2 separate regions of the Homo sapiens genome follow, and region 1 is linked to region 2. The links are contacts of gene promoters, found by promoter capture Hi-C in blood cells and fetal thymus (Javierre and others, 2016). All regions are on one chromosome and are shown on one strand. The core of a region is centred on a gene start or on the middle of the fragment in contact, and the rest is flanking DNA. Distances in the headings are between cores, read along the strand shown.

Evidence for each region. Contacts are between HindIII fragments. The CHiCAGO score rates a contact against its expected background, and 5 or more counts as called.
Region 1: a contact is called between a fragment that was not itself captured here and the fragment with the promoter of SH3YL1 in region 2, in 1 of 17 cell types (naive B cells). The highest score is 6.0, in naive B cells.

The regions. Positions count from the first base shown.
Region 1 is chr2:465,497-468,748 of GRCh38, forward strand. No RefSeq gene overlaps it. Among named protein-coding and RNA genes, the nearest start is that of LINC01874, 26 kb to the right of the region's middle. The HindIII fragment of the contact is 8,460 bases long and covers 1-3,252 here.
Region 2 is chr2:262,690-265,495 of GRCh38, forward strand. SH3YL1 (SH3 and SYLF domain containing 1) reads right to left here and starts at 1,343. Exons shown (of 10, transcript NM_015677.4): 1 at 1,295-1,343. The coding sequence starts at 1,295. ACP1 (acid phosphatase 1) reads left to right here and starts at 2,258. Exons shown (of 6, transcript NM_004300.4): 1 at 2,258-2,318. The coding sequence starts at 2,276. RefSeq lists silencers at 1,239-1,818, 1,889-1,968 and an enhancer at 2,319-2,368. The HindIII fragment of the contact is 12,050 bases long and covers 1-2,806 here.

The DNA of each region.
Region 1 (3,252 bases), core at 220-2,719, 200 kb after region 2:
ATGCCTGTGACTTTGCCCACTTGAAAAACCTGGGCTCTGCTTATCTTTCTCAGCCGTCTATATGCTCAATAAAGAATTTAATCTGTTTCATAACAATTCTAATTATGACATAAGGCAGAAAAAGGTCACATAATTTGGAAACCAGGATTTCCAGATGCGTAAGCCTCCACTGGGCTCAGGGTCTGTTTGATCGACTAGCTACATCCAGGTCTGTGGTTCTGCGGAAGGCTGTTTCAGAATATTTGAGGATGCATACAACCAGGAAATTTATTTAAAACAAAGAAAATGGCGCTTGTGTTATATATGACGAAAAATTGTAAAACTTGAGGTCATTCTATAAAAAGCCGTCCTGACTTTAGTACTTTTCTACAAATAAACGTGTTTTTACAACGCTGTCCCACCACAGCATGTACACAAGGTGGGCCCATCACGCCACATCCCTGCCCCTAGGACGCTGAGAAACATTTTAATCAATCCTGACACTGAGAAACATTTTAATCAATCCTGAAGTTTCCACATTTTGAAGCAACTGTTTTAATTATTCTCTTAAGGGCTGGCAATAGGCGAGACACCTGTTTTCTAGTTCAGGGTTAAAAATAGCTTGAATAGCTGGTGTTTGCGAAGGATTTCACAGATTTCCTGCTGTTTCAGCCGAGCCACACATTTCCCTTGAGAAGTAGACAAAAAAATGAATGTGTCCATTTCAGTCATGGAAGAAACGGCGCCTTCCAGTCACCAGATAGACGGGAATCTCATCACGCTCAGGCCTTCCAACACCCAGCTGTCTATTTTTCACCATGGAGGTTATCTCTGATGACTGTAGCCCCTGATCTTCATTCCTCATCTGTTAAGGGGGACCTGAGGACTTCTTTTTTTTTCTTTTTTTCTTTTTTTTTTTTTTTTTTTGAGACGGAGTCTGGCTCTGTCGCCCAGGCTGGAGTGCAGTGGCGCGATCTCGGTTCACTGCAAGCTCCGCCTCCCGGGTTCACGCCATTCTCCTGCCCCAGCCTCCCGAGTAGCTGGGACTACAGGTGCCCGCCACCACGCCCAGCTAATTTTTTGTACTGATAGTAGAGATGGGGTTTCACTGTGTTAGCCAGGATGGTCTCGATCCCCTGACCTTGTGATCCACTCGCCTCGACCTCCCAAAGTGCTGGAATTACAGGCGTGAGCCACAGCACCCGGCCCTGAGGGCCTCTAAGGTAGCGTTTCACTCGCTAGGAATTTCCAGTCTCCTCCGAGTTCCGAAGGTTCGTTCACGGGACCGTGAGCATCTTGCCTTCATCCTTCTTCACTGTTAACCAACCCTTTACTGTGTGACTATTTCACCGTCTATTTATTTTTCTGGCAAGGATTTTTTTTTCTGCCTGTTATTGGATCCCTAACTCACACTACAAACCAAAGCCTACGTTTTAAATGAAATATTTTAACATTTTGAATAAAATACCAGAAACTATTCAGAACCACCAATGACATCAGATGTACTGGCTGCCCGGCTCCCTTCTGCACTTGCCCCTTAATAAATTCCTTTAATCCTCGAAACGATCCCGCAGAGGGATCCTGGCATTATTTCGTCTTAGAAAAACTGAATTCGAAATGCAGAGAGTTGAACCCACGTGTCCAGGTCTGGTCTGCGATCGGCAGGCGCCCCAGTGTCCCCATCAGGCAGCTGCAGGAACCCGTCCTCCCTCCCACCTGGGCCCTGGGAGGCTGTGCAGATGCGTCTGGAGCCGGCAGGGAGAAATCCCTCTCCAGCTTCTTCTCTTCCTGGGACTGCACAGGCTCCTCTAGGGTCCCCGCGGGCCTGGCCCCAAAGCCTCCTCCTGTTCACCCTTCCTGGCAGCCCACCTGCCAGGGAGAGCAGCTCCTGAGCTATGGGGAGTGGAGAGGCCCTCCCCGCCCCGCCCGGAGCTGGCTCTGTGGCCCCTGCATGGGTGGGGGTGGTGCTCTGTCCGCTCAGCAGGGGCACCCACCCGGGACAGAGAACAGGCGTGTGAATGAAAGATAACTGGGCTTTTCCTAAACTGTTTAAAAGTAAAGTACCATTTACACAAAGAACCCGGTCTCGAGATTTGTAAGTGACGCCTGTCCAGACAACGTATTATTCCATGCAGTTTCCACATCACGTGGGCTTTTATTTGGTTCAGCAGTGGCCACAGTAAGCCCTGCCCTGGGGCATTAGCTGGTGCCCTTGTACGCGCACAAACCAAGCATTTTATTGCATAATCCAAAATGATGTAGCCTGTGGCCTGTCGGGAGGCGCTCCCTTCTTGTGGAGGAAGGAAGGTCAAGAAGGAGCTCCCGGCAGACCAGGGTTCGCTGCGCCCAGAGACCTGCCCAGAGACCTGCTGCACGCCGGGGCGCAAGGCCGAGTCATCCCAGGCGTCCGTGGGCCGTGATTCCCACTCACGCCGGGGGCCCAGGCAGGCAGAGAAGAGTTAATGAGCGCGCAAGTGCAGGCGGTCACTCCTGGGCCTGAAACTCCCGCGCTGTGCATTCAGGGCCCTCGTGGCTCTCAGAGGCGCGTCCCAGGGGCGCACACTGCACCTTGGGCTGGGCAGCTCCGCCGGGTTGTGGCGAGCGGATGAGGGAAGGACGCAGAAACCAGGGCGGAGGAGCCGCGAGGGGCAGGACGAGGCTGCATGGGCCAGCGAGGGGGTCGACACCGAGCCAGAGTGAGCGCGGGGCCTGGGGCGCAGAGCCCGCCCAGGGAGCCGGGAGACGCCGCGCAAGCTCCCCGGACAAACGCAATGACCGAGGACGCGCGGGCGAGGCCGTCCAGGGAGCCCTGGTCCCTCAGCTGCACCGGACTGAGCCGCGACCGCTCAGCACGCGCTGCTTATAAATCAGGGGTGCGCTTCCCAAGCCCCGGGTGAGGTCCCCTACGTCGGCACAGCCTTAGGAGCTGCAAAGCAGCGCGCGCCTCCGGGGCTCCTGCGCGCCCCTTGAACCCCGCCTCCCGCATCCTCCTGCAACAGCCTGGAGCTCCCTGTGCAGGACGCAGCGGGGGGCGGGGGGCGGTCTTAGGAGGCTGCGGGGCGCACTCCCACCTCCTGCCTCCCCGAGACCCCCAGCGCCTTCTCCAGGGTTTAGAGCGGAGGTGAAGGGGCCTCGTCCTGCACCGCCACTGGGCGCCTGGGCTGTTCATCATCGGTTACCGCCGATTCATAGGAACTCCTCAACACATTGGCTCGGAAATGTACAGTCATAGGCAATTTATAAAACTGACAAAAATTATTCCGCTAATGCCAG
Region 2 (2,806 bases), core at 93-2,592:
GTTATTTCCCTTTGACTGCCTCAACTTCCTATGTTTGTGTTGACATGCCAGATCCTTATTTCTGCGGAATGAGAAATCTCTTGAGAATAAAGTTTTCCTAAACAGAACAAAAGTATCAAATCACTTTTGATGAGCAAACATTATTTTAAACTTTTTTTTAACTTACAAAAGATGAGGGGTAACATTTACTAGTTTTACAGAAATTTTCTTTAAACAGAACATTAGTGAACCAAATAACCAATTCTCCTCAAACATGATAGACAGGATGGAGGTTATCACTTTGATCATTTTAACCTCCAACATAGTAATTTGTAAACATCAGTCGCTGCACAAGTATTTTAATAACAGGCCAGCCCACGGGAGTAAACAGCACCTTAGCCTCGAGACCTGTTCTCTCAACTGTGTGTACAGATTTTCTAAGTCGTTATGAATTCAGATATTCCCTACATCTCAATAAAAACACCTAGGAGAACAAGAAATCAGGACATGCATCTCCTGTAAGCAGAAGAGAAACCGAGCACCTGCTCTCTTGCGGGGGGGCAGCTTCGTGTCACTTTCCAACTCAGCCTCCACAGGAGCATGGGCATATTGGTTCAAATGAAGTGTAAAGGACACATCTCTGTCCACAGTGTAAATCCTATTTCCTTAAGGTGGTCAACCGATTGAGACCAGTTCCACACTTCCTTAAAGAAGGAAAAACTCAGCAGCCAGCGCCAAGGCCCAGCGATCAGAGAGGACCCGTGCTCGCCGCGACCCCGCGCTCGCCCTGTGGCCCCGCGACCCCGGCGCCAGGTGTTGGGGGGACCGGCCCTTCCCTTCCGGGTGTGAGGGGCTGGCCCTTCTCTTCCAGGTTGGGGGGCTGGCAAACTCGAACCTCGCCGGCGCCCTAGCCAAGGCCTCCTCCCCGCGCCTGCCGCGGGTTCCACGCACATTCCAAGCGCGCGCATTCGACCCAAACTTCAGAGACGCTTCTGTGGAACGGAAGGATGGTCGCTGACACCTCGCCGTTCAAATATCAGGAAGTTAAAAATAACACGACCATCGTCATCATTCCAAACTTCGGAATAGCTTTTCTAAAAATGGAAAAGACGGTGGCTAAACTTCAATCAAAATCGCTGTGGTCAAGAAAGTCCTGGAAGCTGCTCTATCTTAACTTTGGGCGGTTTGCGGTTAACAGACGCGCGACCTAGAAACCCCAGAGGCATCGCCGGTTTTCCCGTCCTCCTCCTCCCACCACCGCCCAGCTCTTGAGAGGGGAGGGTGCTGCCGGACAGGTGGGTCCCCGGGTACTCACTGCTGCCCGCCCGGCCGCGGCGCCCCGTCCCGAGGCTGCCCAGGAAGAGGAAGGCGCGCTGCCCCGCCCCGCGGACAAGGAGGCCCCAGCGAGGGCGTACCTGCGGCAGGTGACGAAGGAGGCGGCGCAAAACACCCGCCGTGTACGTTTCGCGGGACAAAAACCACGCGCCCGCCGGGCCGCGCTCAGGCCTTCGCCCTCAGGGACTTCGGAACCGCCCCGTCCTCAAGATCGAAAAGCCCAGAGCCCCGCGGCGGCTCCAAGCACGGTGTTGGGGGTGGGGGTCTCAGGGAGCGCCCAGGCCCAAGGCCGCCCTGGTCCGGCGTGGACCCCGCGGGGCTCAAGGCAGGTTCCCCGCGTGACCCGCCCAGCCCCTCTATGCGAACTCGAACGACAGGCACCACAGCCCGCCACGTGCGCGAGACTCGCGCTGTGCCCCAACCCAGGTGGGCGGCCCGCGGAGCCGCGAGGCCTGAGCCCGCCCTGCAGGTGACCCGCGGCCCTTCCTCCTCCAGGTACCCCTCTCCTGCGGCCCCGTCCCCTATAGGTAACCTTTACCTCCCGCGGCTCCTTCCCCTCCAAGCGACCCGCAGCCCCGCCCCCTCCAGGTGACTCCCCCCCGCCAACCCCCGCCACCACACACACACACCCCCTCGCCTTCCGCGGCCCTACTCCCTCCAGGTGACCCCACCCCCGCAGCTCCTCCTCCTCCGGACAACCTGCAGCCCCGCCCCTGCAGGTGAACGGCGGCCCAGTCCCTGCAGGTGACCCGCGGACCCTCCCCGCCCGTCCTACTACCGTCATAGGACCGCCTCCGCAGGCGCACTGGAGCCGATTGCGCAGGCGTGGCTCTCACACGCGCTGCCCTGTTGGCGTTGGTGCGGGACTGCGCAGGCGCGCGGGGCAAGAGGGTGGCAGTGCGCCTGCGCCGCGTCGGCGTGCGGAACGCCGCGGTGTCTCGGCGCCTCTGCGCGCGGGAAGATGGCGGAACAGGCTACCAAGTCCGTGCTGTTTGTGTGTCTGGGTAAGAGGGCGCCGACTTACTCATGTTCTGACGTCCTCTGGAGAGTTGGATCGGGCTTGTGCGCTGTAGGTTGTGCCGCCGGCCTAGGAACCATGAGGGGGAGGAGGCCAGGGACTGGGAGGCCTAGGGTGTTCTAGGAGTGTGCCGCAGCGCCCCTGTTCCCCATCCGCCCCGTGCACCCGCCCAGCCTGCCCGCTAAACCTGGGTCCCCTCGCGCCTGCCATATATCCGGGGCTCTTGGCATCTGCAGCCACAGCCCCTACAAGCCAAGGTACTTTCTTTGCGACTACTAGAATCCCTCTCGTTCCCCTCCAATGGGCCCAGGTAGGCCTGGAGGTTGTCGGACTGATGTGGTCTCTTAGGGGCCTCCTGAGTCCTATGACAACATTGTTTTGTTTGCTAGTTTCCTTAGCCCATGCTTAGATAGGGATCTGAGTTAAAGGGAGATGAAGTTTTACGGTTTCGGGTTTCTTGATTGTAAAAGCCAA